Regions from separate parts of the Homo sapiens genome. Here region 1 is linked to region 2. Evidence: promoter capture Hi-C in 16 types of primary human blood cells and fetal thymus (Javierre and others, 2016). All regions are on one chromosome and are shown on one strand. Each heading gives the region's core, a stretch centred on a gene start or on the middle of the fragment in contact. The rest is flanking DNA. Distances are from core to core; before and after follow the strand shown.

Region 1 (6,356 bases), core at 3,072-5,571, 340 kb after region 2:
GTGCTTATGTCACACGCCCTTACCGTGCTTATCTCAGTTTGTAATTATCTACTCATTTAGAAAAGTGTTGATGAAGGTCTTCACTGTCAGCTTTCAGGATAGCAGGAATCATAGCTGATTTTACTTACTTAACGGGGTTTCATTCTTTGTAACTTTTTTTTTTTTTGAGATGGAGACTCACTCTTGCCCAGGCTGGAGTGCAATGGCATGATCTCGGCTCACTGCAACCTCCACCTCCTGGGTTCAAGTGATTCTCCTGCTTCAGCCTCCCGAGTAGCTGGGATTACAGATGCCTGTCACCACGCCCAGCTAATTTTTTGTATTTTTTGTAAAGACGGGGTTTCATCATGTTGGCCAGGCTGGTCTCGATCTCCTGACCTCAGGCGATCCACCCACCTCAGCCTCCCAAAGTGCTGTGATTACAGGCATGAGCCACGGCACCCAGCCACTCCTTTTTTACTTATGGGTGAGAAGCCATTAGAGATTATTTCTTCTTTTCTTTCTCTCTTCACTAAGGCACCAGGGTCACTAAGTAGTAGGATACTTTGAACTAGAACTCAAGAAATTGAGTTTTAATTTTACCTCACACTCTCATATGAATTCTCCATGTGACCTCGGGCCATACTTCCCCTGTACCCTGTTTCCTCTTTTATAAAAGTAAGAGTTTAAACTAGATGGTCTCCGACATGCATCCTTCTCTAACATATTCTGGAACCTTCAATAAACTAAGATAAAGCAGAATAATTAAAACTTAATTTAAAAGAACACAGGAAAGGAAGCAGCTACATTAAGCAAAAGAGACATCCTCATGGTTGAAGAAGTGTATGCCCTGGTGTCTGGATCCCATTTAGGAAACTTGGTAACCTTGCAATCTTGGGCAGATTGCTTAATTTCTCTAGACCATGACTTCCTCTTCTGTAAGATGTGATAAGAACATCTACCTCACAGGTTTCATGAGAGGATTAAATGAGATAATGTATTATAATCCCTTGAACATGGTAGGCTGTTATGTTAAGTCCTTTCCTCCTTCTCTGTAGCTATCATGGAATTTAAAAACACATTATAACTAGAGCATGAGTTGCGACTAAAGGCTCAATTGTCTCTGCATGTGTTGGCTCATGCATGCTTTATTCCTCTGAAGAGCTTTTATACCAAGTGAAAGGAAATAATTGCATTTCCCTGAAAATTCACAGGAAAAAGTTATGTTTTTCTCTTCATTCAAGTGATTCTGTTAGACCCAACCACATGCAACAATTTTAAAGTTGCTTCCAAATATATTTACAAATATTTCCTGTCTTCAAGGAACAATGGCAAGACCATGACTCAGGTTCACATCCGGATTCCACCACTAACCATGTACCCAATTACTTCAGTCACCTTCATTCAGGTCTTACATATCACAGAATAAAATCAGATTTCATCAGAGGAGGTGAAGACAGGGAGAGGAGATATTTCAATCCCTTCTCCGCAACCCCCGTTTTTTTTTTTTTTTTAACAAGGATCCTAGAGTTACTGAATGATAGCACGTTTGAGGGGGAAAGACCCTAAGGATGATCTTTATAAGCCATCACTTGGTGTTGGTGGTGATAAGAGACTCGAGTATCTTTATGCAGTGGAAAGAGAAGATTGGACTCGGAATCAGAAGCTTGAGTTCAAGCACTGGTTTCATCAGTCTTGTGATCTTGGGTTGGTCACTTAACCTCTTCAAGGGTCCTCAGCTGTGAAAGAGGATAGTATCAGCTAATTCTTGTAGGTGCAGTGAGGAGGCAGTGAGATAGTGCAGGTAAACTATAAAACAATTGTCACATGAAACGCATCACAGTGATTCTTTGGACCCACAAGCTCCAATCTTATAAAACATATCCAGTCACCCACCAACATAGATCATCTCACCTTGCATATCTGATTTTGTGGATCATGGGGAAAAACTGCTGATTCCTAGCAAAACCCATGGCATAGGATAAGTGCACAATAATTTTTTTTTCCTAAATGATTTAGATGACAGTGACTCATTAAGGGTTTCCTGAGGCCTCCTCAGAGTCGAGAGGTGGGTGCCTGAAGCCACCCAAAGTCCCTGTCACAGGATGGCTCCCAACGCACACACCACAGGCCTGCCCAGTATGTTCCACTATCTACCCAGTAGAGCCCTGCCCAGTACGTTCCACTGTCCCTTCCCTAGAAGAGGTGACTGTTGTTCACAGTCCCAGAAAAGCGGGCTCCCCAAAACAATGCAAGGACCCACCTCTCTCTGAACCTCACCCACCCTAGTTTTCCTTTAAAAATCAATTTACAAGAAGATCATGTGAAGGAAAAGGTTGGGTGATATTCTAACCCAAGTTAGCTGTTTCTCAACCAAGTTCTCTTTGAAAAATTCAACAACCACCTTTGGGGAATTATTTACAACAGAGGAGTGAGGATGGGACCAGGATAGGTATTGCCTATGTTGGTGGAACCAGGGTTTTTTTCCTGGATTACCAAAGAGATGGTATGCATTGCTCCCAGAAGCTAAATATCTTCAGGCTTTCAATGGTGGCCTTCACCTGAAAATGTTATCCCTGTTGAAGCTTTCAAGCCAGTATTTTCATAAGAACTATATTTTCTTTGGTGAACTGAGGCATTATAATGATGACTATACAGGTTCTTGAGTGACTGAAGCCATCATTAGCATTGTCATTATTTTTGTTTAGTTGCATCTCCATAGCAGCTCACATTCACAATGTGCTTTGCAATTGTTCCTTAGCAATAGCCCTCACAAGATTCTCAGGAGGAGAGGGTTAATCAGGATTAACATTTCTGTGTTGCCTAAAGAGGAACCAAGGTAAGCAGAAATGTAGCCAGTTGGCTGGCATCACTGTTGCTTCAGGATTCATCCTTAGACACCCAAGCTTCTACCCTAGTCTGGTGCTACACTTACATTGCTTACATCCAAGTGTGGTTATTTCTGTGGCTCCTGTTATAACTATTATAGCACCAGGTCTATGACCAGGAGAATTAGACTGGCATTAAATCAGAATAAGAGATTTTGCACCTGCAATAGACCTTATGACACCTAACCAACCCCATTATTTACAATTAAACAGGAACAGAGGGAATACTTTATCCAACTCACACAAGCTGCTTTCCTCCCAGATCCATGCTTTTTTGCGTTTATTATTTTTTAGAGATGGGGGCTTCACTATGTTGCCCACACTGGACTAAAACTCTGGGCCTCAAGTGATTGTCCTGCCTCAGCCTCCTGAATAGCTGGGACTACAGGGGCATGCCATCACACCTAGTTCATTTCCTCTATTTAAAATATACATGGCTTAAACTCCAACTGGGAACCCAAAACATTCATTTGCTAAGAGTCTGGTGTTCTACCACCTGAACTAGGCTGGCCACAGGAATTATAAAAGCTGAGAAATTCTTTAATAATAGTAACCAGGCAACACCATTGAAGGCTCATATGTAAAAATCCATGCCTTCCTTTCTCCCAATCTCCATTCCCAAACTTAGCCACTGGCTTCTGGCTGAGGCCTTACGCATACCTCCCGGGGCTTGCACACACCTTCTTCTACAGAAGACACACCTTGGGCATATCCTACAGAAGACCAGGCTTCTCTCTGGTCCTTGGTAGAGGGCTACTTTACTGTAACAGGGCCAGGGTGGAGAGTTCTCTCCTGAAGCTCCATCCCCTCTATAGGAAATGTGTTGACAATATTCAGAAGAGTAAGAGGATCAAGACTTCTTTGTGCTCAAATACCACTGTTCTCTTCTCTACCCTGCCCTAACCAGGAGCTTGTCACCCCAAACTCTGAGGTGATTTATGCCTTAATCAAGCAAACTTCCCTCTTCAGAAAAGATGGCTCATTTTCCCTCAAAAGTTGCCAGGAGCTGCCAAGTATTCTGCCAATTCACCCTGGAGCACAATCAACAAATTCAGCCAGAACACAACTACAGCTACTATTAGAACTATTATTATTAATAAATTCCTCTCCAAATCTAGCCCCTTGACTTCGGATTTCACGATTTCTCCCTTCCTCCTAGAAACTTGATAAGTTTCCCGCGCTTCCCTTTTTCTAAGACTACATGTTTGTCATCTTATAAAGCAAAGGGGTGAATAAATGAACCAAATCAATAACTTCTGGAATATCTGCAAACAACAATAATATCAGCTATGCCATCTTTCACTATTTTAGCCAGTATCGAGTTGAATGAACATAGAAAAATACAAAACTGAATTCTTCCCTGTAAATTCCCCGTTTTGACGACGCACTTGTAGCCACGTAGCCACGCCTACTTAAGACAATTACAAAAGGCGAAGAAGACTGACTCAGGCTTAAGCTGCCAGCCAGAGAGGGAGTCATTTCATTGGCGTTTGAGTCAGCAAAGGTATTGTCCTCACATCTCTGGCTATTAAAGTATTTTCTGTTGTTGTTTTTCTCTTTGGCTGTTTTCTCTCACATTGCCTTCTCTAAAGCTACAGCCTCTCCTTTCTTTTCTTGTCCCTCCCTGGTTTGGTATGTGACCTAGAATTACAGTCAGATTTCAGAAAATGATTCTCTCATTTTGCTGATAAGGACTGATTCGTTATACTGAGGGACAGCAGAACTAGTTTCCTATGAGGGCATGGGTGAATACAACTGAGGCTTCTCATGGGAGGGAATCTCTACTATCCAAAATTATTAGGAGAAAATTGAAAATTTCCAACTCTGTCTCTCTCTTACCTCTGTGTAAGGCAAATACCTTATTCTTGTGGTGTTTTTGTAACCTCTTCAAACTTTCATTGATTGAATGCCTGTTCTGGCAATACATTAGGTTGGGCACATAAGGAATACCAACATAAATAAAACATTCTAAAAGAAGTTTACGATCTAATAAAGGAGACAGGTACATAGCAAACTAATTCAAAGGAGCTAGAAGATGGAGAAAATGCTGAATGTGGACTAAGTCATTCAACAAAGTTTTCAGGAAGCACAAAGAGGAGGGGCTCCCCTCACAGATATCTGGATTAGAGGCTGGCTGAGCTGATGGTGGCTGGTGTTCTCTGTTGCAGAAGTCAAGATGGCCAAAGTTCCAGACATGTTTGAAGACCTGAAGAACTGTTACAGGTAAGGAATAAGATTTATCTCTTGTGATTTAATGAGGGTTTCAAGGCTCACCAGAATCCAGCTAGGCATAACAGTGGCCAGCATGGGGGCAGGCCGGCAGAGGTTGTAGAGATGTGTACTAGTCCTGAAGTCAGAGCAGGTTCAGAGAAGACCCAGAAAAACTAAGCATTCAGCATGTTAAACTGAGATTACATTGGCAGGGAGACCGCCATTTTAGAAAAATTATTTTTGAGGTCTGCTGAGCCCTACATGAATATCAGCATCAACTTAGACACAGCCTCTGTTGAGATCACATGCCCTGATATAAGAATGGGTTTTACTGGTCCATTCTCAGGAAAACTTGATCTCATTCAGGAACAGGAAATGGCTCCACAGCAAGCTGGGCATGTGAACTCACATATGCAGGCAAATCTCACTCAGATGTAGAAGAAAGGTAAATGAACACAAAGATAAAATTACGGAACATATTAAACTAACATGATGTTTCCATTATCTGTAGTAAATACTAACACAAACTAGGCTGTCAAAATTTTGCCTGGATATTTTACTAAGTATAAATTATGAAATCTGTTTTAGTGAATACATGAAAGTAATGTGTAACATATAATCTATTTGGTTAAAATAAAAAGGAAGTGCTTCAAAACCTTTCTTTTCTCTAAAGGAGCTTAACATTCTTCCCTGAACTTCAATTAAAGCTCTTCAATTTGTTAGCCAAGTCCAATTTTTACAGATAAAGCACAGGTAAAGCTCAAAGCCTGTCTTGATGACTACTAATTCCAGATTAGTAAGATATGAATTACTCTACCTATGTGTATGTGTAGAAGTCCTTAAATTTCAAAGATGACAGTAATGGCCATGTGTATGTGTGTGACCCACAACTATCATGGTCATTAAAGTACATTGGCCAGAGACCACACTGAAATAACAACAATTACATTCTCATCATCTTATTTTGACAGTGAAAATGAAGAAGACAGTTCCTCCATTGATCATCTGTCTCTGAATCAGGTAAGCAAATGACTGTAATTCTCATGGGACTGCTATTCTTACACAGTGGTTTCTTCATCCAAAGAGAACAGCAATGACTTGAATCTTCAATACTTTTGTTTTACCCTCACTAGAGGTCCAGAGACCTGTCTTTCATTATAAGTGAGACCAGCTGCCTCTCTAAACTAATAGTTGATGTGCATTGGCTTCTCCCAGAACAGAGCAGAACCATCCCAAATCCCTGAGAACTGGAGTCTCCTGGGGCAGGCTTCATCAGGA
Region 2 (6,093 bases), core at 1,457-3,956:
CTGACCTAGACTCTACCTCTCCACACCCTCTTCAGGCTGCCCTCATATGTGCCCTTCAGTAGCCAGGCCCTCCCAGCTTCAAACTTGAATACAAAGACCCAACAAGGATTAGGACATTGCACCTAGGGTTTGTGCAGGCAGGCCATGCTGCTGCAGACAGACGGGCAAAGTGACGTGATGCCCACATACATTGGCTTTCCTGGCAACCACTCACCTTCTAAATTGACATTTGGTCCTTGCAAGTATCCAGCAACTAGTTGGTTGTTCCTCAGATAGAAGGTCTTCTGGTTAACATCCCAGATTCTGAAAAGGAAAAGGACTCAGCTGTAGTGCACAGCCACCATGTGCCCAGCCTTGTGCTTGGCACCTTCCTGTGTCCCCCAGAACTTGTCAAATTTGCATCCAGCTCTTCCAGGGGTATAGTATTTTAGTATACCCACGGCATGCATGGATGAGAAGACTGAGGCTGACAATGGTTAAGAGGCAGGCCCAACCCTCACAGCTGGTGAGCAGTGAGCCCACATTTGACTCCCCTCCTTACTTGCTTCCCATCTGAGATTCCCAGGGAAGGCACTTCTGTTTCAGCAAAGCATGCTGTAGAGCAGCAACATCCAAAAGAACTTTCTGGGATGCAAAAATGTTCTGTAGCTGCACTGCCCAATAGGGTGGCCACTAACCACATGTGGCTATTGACCTCTTTAAATGTGGATAGTGTGACCAAGGGTCTGGATTTTAAATTTTCTTCTATTTTCATTCATTTAAGTATAAATTTAAATAGCCACCTGAGACTAGTGGCTACCATAGCACCTAGGTAGAAGTTTCAAGAGACGGAACACCTTGCAGCTAACTCGCTCTGAGTCTGAGACCAGAAGGGTCTTTCCCTAGAGCCTTTCCTCCATTAGCTGGTGACCTGCTCAGAGTCCTGCAGGAGCAGCTACCCTTGGGAACAACCCGGCTTCCTCTCTACCTCAGCCAGTGACCTGATTCTGGGTCCCAATCCTTTCTTCTTGGTAAAGGGCCTCTCTGGTTGAGAGCAGGACTCAAAGCTGTGAGACGTAATAAACAGAGCTCTGGCCAGCCTGACCTGGGACCTGTGCCTCACCTCTTCACCTGTGAAGTGTGGCTAACTGTACCCACCTCATCAGGTGGCTCTGAAGAGCCCACATGCTCGACGAGGGGTGGCCAGGCAAACCAAAGTGCTTTGCATATGGCAGCATTGGCCTGTTTGTGATTATCCTAGTTTCTAGATTTAGCCTCAGTCTGGAGGGATAAACATCACCTGCTGGGGCCTCCAGGAGGATCTCCTGGAGCTTCTAGCTGATCAGAGCAGGGAGAGGCAACCTAGGGAAGCAGACAGTCCCCATATCTGGAAGGGAGAGACTTGTCACTCATACACCCACAGAGCCCGACTTGCAGCCTCGGCCCAGACAAACATAAAGGTCAGAGTGGGGGAGAAGTCACCCCAACATGATTTCACTGCTGGAATGTCACACTGCAGAGGGCATGCACAAGCAGTCCTGTCATTTCTATCAGCATCACATCTTTACAATAGTGATGGTCTCACAAAGCCGATTCCATTTTCAAATCATAATGGTTTTCAGGCTCTTTACAATGCACGGAATACTGTTACGCTATTATCTGTGCATTTAATTTTCACAACAACCCTGTAAGGCACACAAGGAGTTATCGTGACTCTCATGTCACAGATGTCACAGACGGGGAAACCAAGGTCCCTGGAGAGTGGGACCCTCCGACATGTCAGCACAGACAGGCCTTGCCCATATCAGTCTGGGCCTTCGGGCTGTGCCCCTGGTGCCCCTCTCTGCTTCTCTGTCAGCACATTCAACTAGGCCTGAATCGCAGTCCCACTCCTTGGCATGCATCTATTACTCACTGGGTTCCTGAGTCTCTGGGAAAGTAAGACAGCCCTCCGGTCGCACTATCCACATCTGGGATATTTTGAAACACAAGTCCTGAAGCCCATGCATGTAACAGCCTCTTTCTTGAATAATGGACATCCTCTCCAGCCCAAACCCAGTTCTCAGGCCCTCTGGGGCCTGGCAGCCCCTGGCAGCTGTGATATGTTTCCAGTCTCCAGCTGATCCACCCTCACCTTCTCCTCCTTGGGGTAGCCTTACCTGAAGGCTTGCATCTTGCTGGATTTTCTCCCAGAGGGTCGGCAGATCGTCTCTGAATGGAACAGGAAGAGGAGGAGAGTGATTAGGTGACTGCGGAGGCCTCTGCAGATTTCCATTCTGTGACTGCAGCAAGGCAGTGGACTGCCATTGCGGGCCCAGAGTTGTGGTTTATAAAGAAATAGTCACTCACCCAAGCTAGGCGTCTGCCACCCTGCCCCACTGCGAGAAGCGGAAATACCCTCCTCGCATTTCCAAAAAGAGAAACCCTTGCTGTTGTCACTTTCAACCCCACTAAGTGTCGCAATGGAGTGTTGTAACTGATTCCCTCCCCTTTTTCCCCTGTGCAATTTCCCCAAAATTAAGATTTCTATTTCCCCTTCATTGAGTTCCTGGGAAGAAGAGCACAATGGAAACCAAACTCCCTACTGTTCCTGACAGGTACCCAGAGTCTGTTTGTTGACTTTTTAAAAAACAGATTTGAGCAGAAAGGCCGTTTTTTCATAATAAAATGATAGGGCTCCCTGCACATGGGACAGTCTCATGTCACTTTGTGTTCTTTGAAAAATGGACAGCCTTGGACTCCGGACCATAGATTGGCAAACATTCTGTAAAGGACGAGATAGTAAATATTTTAGGTTTTGTGCGCCACGATTACTCAGCTCAGCTGTCTGTTTCACAAAAGGACGTTGGCAATCCATAAATCAATAAGCCTAGCTGTGTTCCACTACAACTTTCTTTGCAAAAGCGGGGAATGGACCGGATTTGGCCTGAGTCTGCTGACCCCTGATGTAAAGTGAGTCCTTCTGAGAGGTGCTTTGAAATCAACTCTTTTCCCACTATCTTACATCTTTAAAGTTATGGTCTCGGGACGATGACATAAACTCAGCATTTGGACAGGAATGGGTCTAAATTCAACCTCTGCCACTTGCCTTGTGCCACCCGTGTGACCTTGAACAAATCATTTCATTAGTTGAGCCTCTGTCTCTTCACTCTCAGAATGAGGGTGATCATGTCTTCTTCACAAATGGATGGAAGGAAGGAAGGGAAAGAGGGAGGGAGGGAGGGAGGAAGCAGGTGTAGGAAGGAAGAGGAGAACTTCTGGCCCATAATGGGCTCTGATACACATTAACTTCCTTACTTACAATATTCTAGACCCGGGGCCTGGAACATTAGGAAAAAGGTAAGCATGCTCCTATTTTATGGGTAGGAAAAAGTTGAAGAGAATTTCTGCATGATCTACAGGATGGACAGTGCTGGTGCAGAAGCATACGTTGCAGTGTTTTAGAGCTGGACGGGAGCTTGGCAATCATCCTGTCCCAACCTGGCATTGTTTTCAAGAAGACTCAGAAAGATTTAGACAAAAAAGGGATCTGTCCAAGGTCACACAGCTTGCTGATGGCAAAAGTATGCAGAGAAATCCAGGTCTTCTGACCTCCAGCCCCGGGCTTTATTAACAAATGCTTCAGAAACTTTAAACCCTAATATTCATCACACTCTGGGAAGAGGCAAATAAGTAGGCAGGTTAATATACATCACCCCCTTCAGCTAGTCCTCACAAAAACAAACAAATAAACAAAAAAAATGTCTCCTTGGCCCTCAAAGGAAGACACTATTTCTCAAACGTGTTTCAAAAATGATGGCTGGGCTGGGCACGGTGGCTCACACCTGTAATCCCAGCACTTGGGGAGGCTGAGGTGGGCGGATCACCTGAGGTCAGGAGTTCAAGACCAACCTGACCAACATGGTGAAACTCCGTCTCTACTGAAAATGCAAAAATTAGCAGGGATGGTGGCATGTGCCTGTAATCCCAGCTACTCGGGAGGCTGAGGCAGGAGGATCACTTGAACCCAGGAGATGGAGGTCGCAGTGAGCCAAGATCACGCCACCGCACTCCAGCCTAGGCAACAGAGTAAGACTCCATCTCCAAAACAAAAACAAACAAAAAAGTATGAATGACTCACTCAAGGTGATGCAGCTTGTGAGGGCAGCACAGGAATACAGACAAAATGTCAAAATATTTACTACTACAGCAGTTGATCTTGATGAGTCTATTTTCAACCAACAAATCAGAATCTTTCTCTCAACCAACACATCTTCCAACCAACAAATCAGAATCAAACACTTTGTGTCCAGAGAGTTAATCCTTCAAAGGAGGAAGACTATGAATGAATTTCCCAAAGGTTTAAAGAATGTATCCTTCAGAGGAAATAGAACATTTCTGCAAAATTGTGTCACCTCCCTGGGTGATGGATTTTTTCAGGCAAAATGGCATGTCTGTATTCCTGTACTGTCCTCATAAACAGTGTGACCTTGAGTGAGTCACCCATCCTTTTTGAAACACGTTCAAGAAACAGTGTCTTCCTATGAGGGCCAAAGAAGAATTTTGTTTATTCATTTGTTTGTTTTTGTGAGGACTAGCTGAAGGAGATGATGTATATGAACCTGTCTACTTATTTGCCTCTTCCAGAGTGTGTTGAATATTAGCGTTTAAAATTTCCAAAGTATTTGCTAATAATCAAGTGTATCACTTTATTCTCACACTCTCTGAAAGAGAAGGCAGCTAGCACCTGACTATGATAGGTTCTCTCCTATTTGTCTTTCTTCAACCCTCCGGAATTGGAAGACCATAATTCTCTCAACAATGTCCTTACAGATTGCAGAAGAGAAGTGGCTTGCCAAGGTAGGGTGGAGAGTTCCATCCTGGCCACTGCCTTCAGACAGCGTTTCAAGTAAAAAGCCCCACCCACACTGCGGCTCCTGGGTAAATGTTTCTCTGACCCCAGTCTGAATTCAGAGAGTATTCTCCTGGAGAAAAGACGCTCGGGGCTCCTGGAACCTCCCTGCTCTGTGTCATTTCCCCGCTGTGTCCTGAGAAGTGGCCCAGTCTGTCCTTTGTCGACATGCACAGGGTGAGGGTGGGGGTGGTCCCTGGGGCAGGAGTTATGGAGTCTAGGTCTGAATCCCCCTGTGTCATTACCCCACACAATGTGCAGAGCCTGTCTTGGTCTCAGTTTCATTATCTGATAGAGCTAATAATAGAAGCCACATCATCGGTTACTATAAGGATTGAATGAAATGCTGCACGTGATGAATCATGCCCTGACCCTGGCACTTGGGAAATACTCACACCGTGGCTTTTGCATATGCTTCTTTACCCCAGGTAAAGTGGGAGAGATCAGGCACAATGAATGCCCCAGCCCCTTGCTCCTGCCCTGCACTCCCAGCCTTCCTGCTCTGTATCCTGACCCACCCTCCTTTCCCAGTCCAGTCTCAAGCCTGCTCTGACTCCAAAGGGGGGGGGCTGTCAATCACTGTGGCTTAGGGAGAGGAAGAAAGGGGACAAGGGAAGCTCTCTCCCTCTTCCTCACGCTTCTGGCCACAAGTCCACTCTTGGTTTCGTCTTATCTCACCCAAACAGTTGGCGTCCTTATGATTTCTGCCCACAGGAAATCTCTGACTAATCTTATTCTCGGTTCTGGGTCCTCAGCACCCCCCGAGTTCTGCTTCCTGGATGAAGCTTTAAGACCATAGCACATAAAAGACAATGCCTTCCCAATCAGCACCCATGGCTTTCATCGGAGGTCCTGGTCATCAAATTGTATCTAGTGGCTTCCATGTGCTGAGCCCTGTGCTACTAGACACTAGAGACAACAGGAGTGTCTAAGCCCCACGTAAAGGGGTTTTGATGAAGCAGAGAGATAGGGAAACCAGGCTGTCCATGTCTTAGGAGGGACACTGCACTGCTGTAAGGGGACACATCTTATGTTGATGCCTGTAAAGTGTTTAGCACAGCTGTCCACATGGGAAGTGTTCAATAGATGTTGGCTATTTCTCAACATCGGTTAATTGCATCTTTCAGTTCTAGGATTTCCATTTGGTTCCTTTTTTGTACAGTTGTTAGTTCTCTGCCAAAAATTCCAATCTTATGTTTTAAATCTGAGTATATTCTCCACAG

What was found. The method cuts DNA at HindIII sites, captures the fragments that hold promoters and counts their contacts. A CHiCAGO score of 5 or more calls a contact.
Region 1: the fragment with the promoter of IL1A here is called in contact with a fragment that was not itself captured in region 2 in 2 of 17 cell types (M1 macrophages and neutrophils); the score reaches 5.8 in M1 macrophages.

The regions. Positions count from the first base shown.
Region 1 is chr2:112,782,458-112,788,813 of GRCh38, reverse strand. It overlaps IL1A (interleukin 1 alpha), which reads left to right and starts at 4,321. Exons shown (of 7, transcript NM_000575.5): 1 at 4,321-4,371; 2 at 5,036-5,090; 3 at 6,050-6,098. The coding sequence starts at 5,044. The HindIII fragment of the contact is 4,198 bases long and covers 2,888-6,356 here.
Region 2 is chr2:113,123,786-113,129,878 of GRCh38, reverse strand. IL1RN (interleukin 1 receptor antagonist) reads right to left here and starts at 2,281. Exons shown (of 4, transcript NM_173842.3): 1 at 2,139-2,281; 2 at 215-303. The coding sequence starts at 2,254. RefSeq lists an enhancer at 5,376-5,445. The HindIII fragment of the contact is 5,902 bases long and covers 1-5,657 here.